Regions from separate parts of the Homo sapiens genome. Here regions 1 and 3 are each linked to region 2. The links are contacts of gene promoters, found by promoter capture Hi-C in blood cells and fetal thymus (Javierre and others, 2016). All regions are on one chromosome and are shown on one strand. Each heading gives the region's core, a stretch centred on a gene start or on the middle of the fragment in contact. The rest is flanking DNA. Distances are from core to core; before and after follow the strand shown.

Region 1 (4,193 bases), core at 1,056-3,555, 480 kb after region 2:
TCCTGCCCTTTCCCCTCAATCTGCAGACAGGGTACTAAGACCAACTGGGAAAAAATTCAAACTCCAGGGCACTGCCTGTTTCATAATAAACCACAGATCTCAAGTTTCAAACATTTTCCAATATGTGTTGGCAGCTTAGATGTCATTTGTTGACTCTTCTACCAAGGACGGGTGGGGGAAGGTAATAAGAAGCCCTAAAGCTGTGTCTGGTTTTGTAACAAGCACGTGAGTCCATAAAACCAAATGCCTGCATGAGATGTAATTGTCCACGTGCTCTCCCCCTTGGAAAGAGGCTGAAACCTTTGACTCAGTGATTCCTCAACATAAGGAATTTAGCAGATGTTAAAACCACAGTCTCTAATTCAAAATTTGAGCTATTAGGATCACTGGGTGTGAAATCATGGCCTCCAATTTTGTTGGTTGTTTGGGGTGGGTTTTTTTGTCTTTTTGAGACAGTGTCTTGCTCTGTCACCCAGGCTGGAATGCAGTGTCACAATCATAATTCACTGCAGCCTTAACCCCCTGGCTCAGGCAATCCTCCCACCTCAGCCTCCCAAGCAGCTGGGACCACAGGTGCATTCTCCCACACCCTAGTAGTAGAACTTTTTTTAATGTTTTTGTATAGATGGTGTCTCGCTATAGGGCCCAGGCTAGTATCCACTACCACCTCAGCCTCCCAGAGCAATCCTTACTCTCAGTTACGGTTTGTGGAACTATAAATTGGTACAGCTTCAGAGGAGAGTAATGTGAATGCTTTTCTCTAAATTACAAAAGAACATACTCTCAGATTCAGTTAACTCCACTTCTAGTAATGTCTCCTATGATGTACAAGAAAGTGTGCAAAATCACCTAGATTCATCAAAGAACTGTTTACATAATGAAAAATAGGAAACCAACATATGCACCAAGATATTGGTTAAACAAATTATGATGCATTCATTTGATAGACTTGGTCCATCAGAACCCCAGCAGAAAAATATGAGTGCTTAATGGAGGGACTTTTTTTTTTGAGTCGGAGTCTCGCTGTTTCGCCCAGGCTGGAGTGCAATTGCGCGATCTCAGCTCACTGCAAGCTTCGCCTCCCGGGTTCAGGCCATTCTCCTGCCTCAGCCTCCCGAGTAGCTGGAACTACAGGCACCCGCCACCACGCCCGGCTAATTTTTTGTGTTTTTAGTAGAGACAGGGTTTCACCATGTTAGCCAGGAAGGTCTCGATCTCCTGACCTCGTCATCCGCCCGCCTCGGCCTCCAAAAGTGCTGGGATTACAGGTGTGAGCCGCCGCGCCTGGCCAATGGAGGGACTTTTTACAAAGTGGAGGGCAGTGTGAAAGAACCCTACAAGACGTTGAAGCACTCTATGGCTTACAATAAGGAGACGCCATCATCATCCTTAGGTTGAAAGGTGCAGTGAGAGGGAGTAGTTTCCGAAACCGAGACTGATTGTATAGGGGTAAAAGAGAGCCCCCAGCAGGAGGGCATGGTTTCTGGCAGAGGAATACAACCATTGCTATCACACAGCCAAGCAAAATAATCTGACATTGCTCTTCTCTCAAACTTCCATTGGCCAAACCCAAAAATTTTTTTAATGTAGAGGTGAAGGGAGCATGGGTGGTACAGTTTATAGAGGCCACCCTTCTAAAAGACAGGTCATGGTGGAGAGTGGAGATGGTAGGGCAAATAGAATACCCAGCACAATGGCCAGGAGCTCACACCTCTAATCCCAACACTTTGGGAGGCTGAGGTGGGCAGATCATGAGACCAGGAATTCAAGACCAGCTTGGCCAACATGGCAAGACCCTGTCTCTACTAAAAATACAAAAAATAGCCAGGTGTGGTGGCACACACCTGTAATCTCAGCTACTCAGGAGGCTGAGGCCCAAGAATCACTTGAGCCCGGGAGGCAGAGGTCGCAGTGAGCCAAGATTGCCCTACTGCACTGCAGCCTGAAAGACAGAGTGAGACGGTCTTAAAAGAAAAAGAAAAAAAATTCCAACCCAACCTGACAGATACAGTGGATATAGTAAGTTACTATTTGTATATTTGTGTATGGAATAACCTGGAAACTGGTAACATTAGTATCAACTTGGCAAGGGAAACTGGGTTGAAGAAATTTCACTTTCCATCATTTTGTATCTTTTGAATTTTGGATAGTGTCAACATATTATCTGATCAAGGAGAAAAGAAATTTAAAAATCAGGTGTAAAGGGAGTGTACCTCTGCTTCCAAATTTAAGCCAAGAGCCACTGTGAAAAGTAGTTTGGTGATTTCTAAAAAAACTTAAAATAGAACTACCATCCGACCCAGCAATCTCATTATTGAGTATATACACAAAGGAATATCAATCGTTCTACCATGAAGACACGTGCACACCTTTGTTCACAGCAGCACTGTTCACAATAGCAAAGATGTGGAATCAACCTAAATGCCCATCAGTGGTAGACTGGATAAAGAAAATGTGGGCTGGGCGTGGTGACTCACGCCTGTAATCCCAGCACTTTGGGAGGCCAAGGTGGGTGGATTACGTGAGGTCGGTAGTTCGAGACCAAGCCTGTCCAACATGGTGAAACCCCGTCTCTACTAAAAATACAAAAAAATTAGCCAGGCATAGTAGCGGGCACCTGTATTCCCAGCTACTTGGGAGGCTCAGGCAGGAGAAGTCACTTGAACCCAGGAGGCAGAAGTTGCAGTGAGATGAGATCACACCACTGCATTCCAGCCTGGGCAACAGAGCAAGACTCTGTCTGAAAGAAAGAAAGAGAGAGAGAGAGAAGGAATGAAGGAAGGAAGGAAGGAAGGAGAAAGACAGAAAATGTGGTATATATACACCATGGAATACTACACAGCCATAAAAAGGAACAAGATAATGTCTTTTGCAGCAACATAGATGGAGCTGGAAGCCACTATCCTAAGTGAACTAATGCAGGGACAGAAAACCAGACACCACAGGTTCTCACTTATAGGTGGGAGCTGAACATTGACTACACATTGACACAAAAAAGGGAACAACAAACAGCAGGGCCTACTTGAGGGTAAGATGGGAGGAGGGTGAGGACCGAAAAACTACCTGTCGGGTGCTATGCTTATTACCTGGGTGATGAAATAATGTGTACACCAAACCCTCACCATTGCTGAAGAGACTGGCGGCTAAATAGAGCAGTGGGTGAAATGGTCCCTGAGTGACATGTTAGGTCTTTGTACATAATTTAAAATAATGTGGCAATATTAATTTTAAAAAAAGAGGAGTGCAGGAAGAGCCAGAGAGAGACAATGTGAGGATGGAAGCAGAGACTGGAGTGATGTGCTTTGAAGATGGATGAAGGGGCTTCGCACAAAGGAATAAAGGGGCGACCAGAAGCTGAAAAGGCGAGGAAATGGATCCTCTTATCAAGGCTCCAGGAGGTACCAGCCCTGCTGACACCTTGACTTTATCCCAGTGAAGCTGATTTTGGAATTCTGGGCCCCAGAAGTAAAATAATAGTTTGGGGTCTGTTTGTTTACTTGTTTGATTGTTTGTTTGTTTGTTTGAAATGAAGCTTCACTCTTGTTGCCCAGGCTGGAGTGCAGTGGTATGGTCTTGGCTCACTGCAGCCTTGACCTCCTGAGCTCAACTGATTCTCCCGCCTTAGCTTCTCAAGTAGCTGGGATTACAGGCATGTGCCACCACATTCAACTCATTCTTTTAACTTTTTATAGAGAGGGAGTCTTGCTATGTTGCCCAGGCTAGTCTCAAACTCCTGTGCTCAAGCAATCCTCCTTCCTCAACCTCCCAATATATTCTGGGATTACAGGTGTGACCCACCACACCCAGCCTACATTATCTTTTCTTACTCAGTCCCTCCTGCCTCCCTCTAAAAAGGATCCCTGTGATTACATTAGGCCCAGCCAGACAGTCTAGAGTAAACTTCTCATCTCAAAATCCTCAACTTAATCCCACCTGCAAGGTCCTTTTTACCATGTAAGGTAACAAATTCACAGGTTGTAAGGATAAGGACCTGGACATCTTTTGGGGGGCATTACAACCTGCCACAACACCATGATCTGTAACAGCCTTGCAATGGGTCAGGCCCTTCACTGACTCCCAGTCACACACTCACTGACTCCTTATAGTAGCCCCAGGATGAGAGGAGTGCCATCAGGCCCATTTTACAGATGAGAAGACTGAGGCTCGGAAAAAGGAAGTCAGTTTGCCCAAGT
Region 2 (4,381 bases), core at 1,492-3,991:
AGGTACTCAGGAGGCTGAGGTAGGAGAATTGTTTGAACTCCGGAGGCAGAGGTTGCAGTGAACCGAGATCACGTACTCCAGCCTGGTCAACAGAGCGAGACTCCGTCTTAAAAAAAAAGAAGGCAACGTCAAAAGGGGAAGCAGAGATTGGAGTGATGTAGCCACATGCCAAGGAATTCCAGAAACCACCACTGGCTGGAAGAGGCAAGAAATGGGTTTTCTCCCAGAGCCTGTGGGGAAGCACGACCCTGCAGACACCTGGATTTCAGTTCAGCAACACTGACTTCAGCCTTCTGGCCTTGAGAACTATGAGAGAATAAAGTTCTGTTGTTTGAAGCCATGCAGTTTGTAGTACTTTGTTACAGCACCCCTGGGAAACAAAGTCAGGCTGAGAAGGAGCAGCCTGAGAGACAGGCAGGAAATCAGGCACTGTGGTGTCGCTGAAGCCAAAGGAAAACATGCAAAAAGGATGGAAGGATCAACAGCATTTAATTCTAGTCCAGTCTAGTAAGAAAAAAAACCTGAATGGGCCAAGTGTGGTGGCTCACACCTGTAATCCCAGCACTATGGGAGGCTGAGGCAGGAGGATCTCTTGAGGTCAGAAGTTCGAGGCCAGCCTGGCCAACATGGTGAAACCCCATCTCTACTAAAAATATACAAAATTAGACAGGCATAGTGGCGGGCACCTGTGATCCCAGCTACTTGGGAGGCTGAGGCACGGGAATCACTTGAACCTGGGAGGTGGAGGTTGCAGTGAGCTGAGATCATGCCACTGCACTCCAGCCTGGGCAACAGAGTGAGACTCTCTCAAAAAACAAACAAACAAACAAAAACCTGAATGGGGGGACTGAATTGAACAACATGGGGGAAGTCAGTGCAGACCCTAATCAGAGCAGTTTCTTAGGAGAAAAGTCAGACAGTCGTGAGCAGGAGACGAGGAAATGAAGACCAAGTATACATGACTCTCTGAAGGAGACAGATGGGGCCAAGAGACAAATTTTTTTTCTTTTTTTTGAAACAGGGTCTTGCTCTGTTGCTCAGACTGCAATGCAATAGTGCAAACACAGCTCACTGCAGCTTTGACCTCCTGGGCTCAAGTGATCCTCCCGCCTCAGACTCCTGAGTAGCCGGGACCACAGGAATGCACCATCAAACCTGGCTAATTTTTTTTTTTTTGAGACAGAGTTTTGCTCTGTTACCCAGACTGGAGTACAGTGGTGCGATCTCTGCTCACTGCAACCTCCGCCTCCCGGGTTCAAGTGATTCCAGTTGGTGCCTCAGCCTCCCGAGTAGCTGGGATTACAGGCACATACCACGACGCCTGGCTAATATTTGTATTTTTAGTAGAGATGGGGTTTCGCTATGTTGGCTAGGCTGGTCTCCAACTCCTGACCTGAGGTGATCTTCCTGCCTCCGCCTTCCAAAGTGCTGCGATTACAGGTGTAAGCCACCGGGCCCGGCCTTAATTTTTAAATTTTTTGTAGAGATGGGGTCTGGCTATGTTGCCAGTGCTGGTCTCAAACTCCTGGGCTCAAGTCTCACTCTGCTGCAGAGGCTGGAGTGCAGTGGTGTAATAATCTTAGGTCACTGCAATCTCAAAGGATTCGAGTGACACTCCCACCTTAGTCTCCTGAGTAGCTTGTCCTAGCTACTCCCTAGCCACCAGGCCTGGCTAATTTTTAAATGTTTATAGAGATCAGGTTTCTCTCTCTTGCCCAGGCTGGTCTCAAACTCTTGGGCTCAAGCAACTCTCCTGCCTTGGCCTCCCAAAGTGTTGGGATTACAAGCGGGAGCCACTGCACCCGGCCTTAAGACTTTTTTTAGGTTAAATTTTTTATTTTTAGAAAATTTCAAACATACACAAAAGTAGAAAGTACAACGACAATTCTCCCCCTACCTCCATATACCAATCATCTCCATCTGGCTTCCACAATTACCAATTCTTGGCCAGTGGTGTTGGAGCCACGCTTCCAATCACACCTCACCCGACGTCGGATTACTTTGAAGGTTGTGGGAAAGCACAGAAATTGAGTAAGGACTTTGAAAGGAGCCTGGCTGGATTTCGGACTTTGGGGGAAACGGGAGTTACAATGAAATGAAGGAATCGTTAGATTGGGATAAGTTTGCATGAGGCAGGTAGAAGTTTAGCCTGGAAAGGTAGGAGGATTCGTCTAGAGAGCAAGGGAAGGCTCAGCTTGGTACAGGGAAGGAGGTAATTTGAGAAGGGCTGGTCTGAGGCAATGCAGGAATTAGGCCGGGGTAGAGAGGTTTCTGTTAATTTGAGAGTTAGCCTGGTAAGGAAATGAATTAGGGACATGGAAAGGATTGGTCTGGAACTGGGAAGAGGTTAATTTCGGGGGGAAGGAATGGAGGAAAAGAAGGTCAGCCCGCGACAAGGGAGGGAATAATCTGGGCAAAGTAGTGAAGAGGACCGGTAAAGCTGAGGGGGGTGGGTGTCCCCCTAAAACGAGTCCTACTTCGCGTTCCTGGGGGAATCATTTCCTAGAGACACCGCAACCGCACCCACCCGCCGCCTGCGCGTGACCAAGATCTCACCCTTATCGGGTTCCTTCGCCGCCGTCGCCGTCGCCACGGCCTCCATCCTGATTCTCTCGGACTTTTCAACCGCCCGGCGGGCCCCGCACACTAACCTCCGGCCCACGCACGCAAGAGACACTTTCGCCTGAGAATGTTCCGGGTCCGGGTGCACCGCTGCGCCCAGGCACCGAAGTTCCGGGCCTAAGGCAGACGTTGCATTGCGCATGCGTGCCTCTCTCGGGCTCCGCCCTCCGCAGCCAGGAAGGAAAGGGGCTCCCCGGAGAGTGAGAGACCCTTAAACCTCTCCTGTCAGTCAGTAGGAACCAGAATCATTGTTCGTTTTATCACTGCTGTGACTCCAGCTCCCAGCGTGCTTAATTTTGGGATGGATGGCTAAAGGACTTTCCCCCGGAGCCTGGAGCCGTCATACGCTGAGGGTTCGTGCTCTCGTTTAGACCCCCGCTTGTCCTTTTCCTTTCTTAACTCCTTCAGGAATTCAGGAATATTACTAAGCCTTGACTCTTTTTTTTTTTTTTTTTTTTGAGACAGGGTCTCGCTTTGTCGCCTAGACGAATGCAGTGGCGCGATCACAGTTCAAGTAACCTCACATTCCTGTGCTCAAGTGATCCTCCTGCCTCAGCCTTTGGAGTACTTGGGACTACAGGCGCGCACAACCGCGCCCGGCTAATTTTTAAAATTTTTTTGTAGAGCCAGGGGTCCCACTTTGTTGCCCAGGCTAGTCCCCAACTCCTGGCCTCAAGCAATCCTCCCGCTTCAGCCTCTCAAAATGCTGGGATTACGCGCGTGAGCCACCAGCCTGGCTTACTTCCGTCATCATACCCTGTCTCTGGCTGGCATGAGATGGATAGTGAGATAGAACTTCCCATTTTGTGTTCCCAGGACCTGGAGGAAATCTACAGGTGTGAAACAAGACAACTCTGGTCCTTATTTCCCTATGGGATGGGTGGGGCTCTATTTAGGTGTTACCAGCAGAGTAGACAGACATGTCACTCAGTGGCCAGGGCTTTGATGGATCCAGAGGGCTGAGGGAGCTGTCCACCCCAGGCTGGAGGGTCAAGGAAGCCTTCTTTCTGGGAGGGTACCCTCAAGCTAAGACCTGAAGAACGAGTAGGAGCTGGGTTAAGAGGAAGGTAGGGAAGAGTCTTGAGGAGGATGGCACGTACGGACGGTTCTGGTTGCTGCAAGCACTTCACTACGGTCAGGGCATAGGAAAGGAGCTCTAACTTGAAAGCCATGATTGGGCTGTGGAGGTTTTGAGAACCTCATGAATTTTTATGCAAAATTCCATGTACCTCTGTATTCTCCAATGCAGTGGTTCATGGCATCATTTGTGGGTTCCAAAAAGGACTTATGGCTCCTCAGAACAAAATAAACACTGATTTGATATTCAAAGGGGGAGCAGAAAGAGAGGGCGCCAGCGATGTTACCAGGTGCTAGGCCATGCAGGGCCTCATAAGCCATAGTAAGTGGCTTGACCTCCTTTATTCTGAAGGGAGTGGGCATCAAGGGACTGGAGATGAGACGTGTGAGAAAAACTGGCTGAGAACAGAGGAAGAGCTTCCCCATTTGCATTCCCTTGAGGTCTGGAGTTGTGGAAGAAAGCCAAGGAGGTCCCTATTTACCAACCCAGATTCCTAGGCATTACCAGGAGAGGCCAGCAGAGGGCGCTGTAGCCCAGCATATGGACATGAAGGGAAGGGGACTTTCCAGACTAAAGGCCCTGCCACCTCCTCTCTGGCGCATTCTAGGGTCCCTTTTAGCCACCAACCTTGGTTCCTTCTCACGTTCTGATGCCCTACCCGAGATTCTGAGACTAGTCAGT
Region 3 (4,115 bases), core at 249-2,748, 320 kb after region 2:
GGGAGGCCGAGGCAGGTGGATTGCTTGAGCCCAGGAGTTTAAGACCAGTCTGGGCAACATGGCAAAACCCTGTCTCTACAAAAAATACAAAAATTAGCTGGGCGTGGTGGCATGCACCTGTAGTTCCAGCTACTTGGGGGGCTGAGGCAGGAGGATCACTTGAGCCTTGGGAGGTCAAGGCTGCAGTGAGACGTGATCATGCCACAGCACTTCAGCCTGGCTGACAGAGTGAGGCCCTGTCTCAGAAAAAAAAAGAGTCTTAAATGCTCATATGCAGCCATTCTTTGTACATCCAGTGGGCTCATTACAGTGGGAACAACAAAAACATGAAGAAAAGGTAAAGAATCACTCAACTACGTTGACATTGTCCATTGTGAATTCCATACTGAGAGCAGACAAGTCCATTATGATGGTGACAGAAGTAATGTTGATGCCCAAGGTTTTGGTCAATCTCAAAATTTTGAGGCTGACCAAAAGGGGAGAATTGTTTAATTAAATTAAATTTGACCTAAAGCTCTCTCTGTAGAGTGAACTGCAACCTAACTTGGGAGTATATTCTTTTTTTTTTTTTTTTTTTTGAGAAGGAGTCTCACTCTGTCACCCAGGATGGAGTGCAGTGGTAAGATTTTGGCTCACTGCAACCTCTGCCTCCTGGATTCAAGTGATTCTCCTTCCTCAGCCTCCTGGGTAGCTGAGATTACAGGCACGCATCACTATGCCCAGCTAATATTTGTATTTTTAGTAGAGACAAGGTTTCACCATGTTGGCCAGGCTGGTCTCGAACTCCTGACCTCAGGTGATCCACCACCTCGGCCTCCAAAAGCACTGGGATTACAGGCATGAGCCACTGCACCTGGCCCAAATGAATATATTCTTGTGACAAGTAGCCAAGTGTTGGCTAATCAGAGCAGCTGGGCTTTCAGTCCACACAGGCTGCAAACTGCTCAGATTGTGACCAAGTAAGGCAAGCTGTGATCTGTGGCCAATCAGGCTGTTTCTGTATGTCACCTCCTTTTTCTGCCTGTAAATACCACTTGACCATACTGCCGTGTGGTGTCTTTCCTGGTTTAGGGAGCTGTCCAACTCATGAGTCACTTCTTTGCTCAAATAAACTCTGCTAAATTTAATTTGATGCTTTTCTCCTAATAATACCACCCATCATGCTTCACCATGCTCCGTACTCACCAACCATGCCCGTGCCACCCCTGACTCTGGAAGTCTGCCTCATTCTGTTTGGTGAAGCTTCCCCAAGTACCAAGGCAAGAAGCAGCTCACCCTCAGACCCCATTCGTCTGTGTCTTACCCTCAGAAAGGATTTGAGTAGGCCTCTTCTATCCATCTGCAGAAGGTTTCCCAAAAGGGGCAGAGGGCGGGGCCCTGGTGGGAGGCGGTCATGGGTGTTAGGGTGGCGCTGAACCAGGAGTAGCAAGAGTCCTGTGAGGAGTGCAAGGAAGAGGAGGACGCTGAGTTCCATGGTCCTGGTCTGACTGCCCTGCACCCTGCTGCAGCCTCCAACTGGGCCTTTTATCCTGACCCTGCCTCTGCACCCTGTTATAAAATTTCATCCATTCCCCACCTCCTTTTTCATCATCATCCAGGAGCATTAGCTTAGAAAAAGTTGTTAGGGAACCCAGACTTCCTGCTTGGGCAACCCAGTGACCTGATGCCTATCCCTTTACCCACTCTGTAGATATTGGCAGGGATACAGTGGTAGAGATATCAAAGTCCAGGTGAGCAAGTGAATGTGTGGGTGTGTGGGTTTGTGGGTATATGTATGTCTATTTTTGTAAGCATAGGTGAGCTTGCACTTTTTTACTTAGCTTTGTCTGTTTGTCTGTGCTTGCATGCATTTGTCCATGCCTGCTTGCATCCCTGTATGTGCTTATATGATTTTTACATGTAAAGGGGTGTTTGAATTTATGCAAATGTACTGGCGTATATTTCTGTGGTTGAATCTGGGGGTGCTTATGTGTGTATCCTTGCATGTGTATGAGCTTCCTTGTATTTATACAGTTTTATATACGAAAGTGCATTTACATTTGTGTGTTGTGGAGGTGGTGGTAGTGCATGTTCAAAACTGAGAGGCTGGCTGGGTGCGGTGGCTCACACCTGTAATCCCAGCACGTTGGGAAGCTGAGGGGGGCAGATCAATTGAGGTCAAGAGTTCGAGACCATCCTGGCCCACATGGCAAAACCCCATCTGTACTAAAAACACAAAAATTAACCGGGCGTGATGGTGGGTACTTTTAATCCCAGCTACTCGGGAGGCTGAGGCAAGAGAATCACTTGAACCTGGGAGGTGGAGGCTGCAGTGAGCCAAGATTACACCACTGCACTCCAGCCTGGGTGACACAGCAATACTCCATCTCAAAAAAAAAAAAAAAAAAAAAAAAAGGAGAAGCTGATGAAAATAAGGAATTATTCAATTCAATCAAATTTGGCCTACTGCCTTTGTAGCATAGCAAACTGTAACCTAGCAATACATGAACCAATTGTGTGTATCTGTGTGTGCTGGTGTATTTGTGCTGGTGTGTTGGTGGATCTCCTAGCCCCTCTCTTTGGAAGCCTGCAGATGCTGAGTCTATCTCCAGTGTCCCCTCCTTCATCCGCCCTTCTGTGACAGCCACAGGTGGAAGTGGTCGGAGAAACAGAAGGAGGAGCAAGAGATGCAGAACTGGTGAGTCTCAGAGGAAGAGGTGGTCAGTTGGAAGGAGACAGAAACTGAGACCTGGCAGGTACAGCGATCAGGTCCTCTTGGTTTCTGATCACTCTAACTAGTGCTAAGGAGTTTCTTCCCTGCCTCTGACTATCTTCACGGTGCAGGAAATTTCTCTGGCTCTCTCTCTGTCTGACTTTGTGTCTCTGTTTTCCCCCTGGAGACTCTTGAGCTCCAGGTGTGTGCAAACTGAGTCCAGTTTGATTGATGTCTACTGGACTCCCATATGTCTCTATCCTCACTGTGCACCTTCACCCACACATCCTCTGACAGGGTCAGTCCATCTTTGCAAAACGTGGGTGTGAATGTGTGCGTGTCTGCCTGTCTCATCCTACGCCTGACTTTTGACCATGAGGCAACATCTTTCTTGCAATGTTAAGCAAACCCTTTGCTGGATCCAGGACCTGAACCCGAAGTTACTTTGACCCAGGAGGAGCAGACAAACAGTCCTATTTGTAAGAGGTGGAAACTGTACTTTCCTGACCCTGAAGAGGTGGCAGCATGGACTTTCCTGAACCAAGGGCCTCGGTCTTGCTGTGCTGTGTCATCTGACACTAAGATTGGGTGCTCATTGCAGCCCCAGGGTGAAGCACCGATGGGGAGGCGTGAAGTGCTTTACACACAGTAACTCAGTCTTTACACTCTTAGTGAGGTATTGTTGCCATCCCCATTTTATAGATGGAGATATTGAAGCAATGACAGTTTGCAAGTCTTACCCAAGGTCATACAGTGGGTTGGGGCTACATTGTCCAATGTGATAGTCACTTGCTGCATGTGGCCACTAATTAAGTACTTGAAATGTGGTCCAAATGCTATTTACAATAGCAAAAATAGGGAATCAACAGATGAATGGTTAAATAAAATGTGGTATATATACACCATTGAATACTATTTAGCCATAAAAAGGAATAAAATAATGTCTTTTATAGCAACATGGATACAACTGGAGGGGATTATCTTAAGTGAAACAAGCCAGGCACAGAAAGTGAATATCACATGTTCTCATTCATAAGTGGGTGCTAAACAATGTGTACACATGGACATAGAGAGTGGCATTATCAGGGGAAATTCAGCCAGATATCGGGCAAAATTCACCCCCAATATTCCACGTAGGTTCTTTTCTGTTCTCCCTAAGTGTCGGCCAGCCTGAGAAATAAAGGGACAGAGCACAAAAGAGAGAAATTTTAAAGCTGGGGGTCCGGGGGAGACATCACATGTCGGCAGGTTCCATGATGCCCCCTGAGCCGTAAAACCAGAAAGTTTTTATTAGTGATTTTCAAAAGGGGAGGGAGTGTACGAATAGGGTGTAGGTCACAGAGATCACATGCTTCACAAGGTAATAAGATATAACAAGGCAAATGGAGGCAGGGCGAGATCACAGGACCACAGGACCGGGGTG

Evidence for each region. The method cuts DNA at HindIII sites, captures the fragments that hold promoters and counts their contacts. A CHiCAGO score of 5 or more calls a contact.
Region 1: a contact is called between a fragment that was not itself captured here and the fragment with the promoter of CCDC97 in region 2, in 1 of 17 cell types (naive CD4 T cells). The highest score is 5.9, in naive CD4 T cells.
Region 3: the fragment with the promoter of CYP2B6 here is called in contact with the fragment with the promoter of CCDC97 in region 2 in 4 of 17 cell types (naive CD8 T cells, non-activated CD4 T cells, total CD4 T cells and 1 more); the score reaches 9.0 in naive CD8 T cells.

Annotation. Positions count from the first base shown.
Region 1 is chr19:40,828,034-40,832,226 of GRCh38, reverse strand. No RefSeq gene overlaps it. Among named protein-coding and RNA genes, the nearest start is that of CYP2A6, 20 kb to the left of the region's middle. The HindIII fragment of the contact is 2,459 bases long and covers 1,076-3,534 here.
Region 2 is chr19:41,308,532-41,312,912 of GRCh38, reverse strand. It overlaps CCDC97 (coiled-coil domain containing 97), which reads right to left and starts at 2,741. Exons shown (of 5, transcript NM_052848.3): 1 at 2,557-2,741. The coding sequence starts at 2,602. LOC105372401 (a long non-coding RNA gene) reads left to right here and starts at 2,864. Exons shown (of 2, transcript XR_935968.4): 1 at 2,864-2,975; 2 at 3,088-4,381. RefSeq lists enhancers at 2,406-2,695, 3,969-4,148. The HindIII fragment of the contact is 19,818 bases long and covers 1-4,381 here.
Region 3 is chr19:40,988,665-40,992,779 of GRCh38, reverse strand. CYP2B6 (cytochrome P450 family 2 subfamily B member 6) reads right to left here and starts at 1,498. Exons shown (of 9, transcript NM_000767.5): 1 at 1,304-1,498. The coding sequence starts at 1,474. RefSeq lists cis regulatory regions at 1,733-1,756, 3,131-3,143, promoters at 1,493-3,158, 1,459-3,727 and enhancers at 3,185-3,204, 3,187-3,234. The HindIII fragment of the contact is 6,148 bases long and covers 1,245-4,115 here.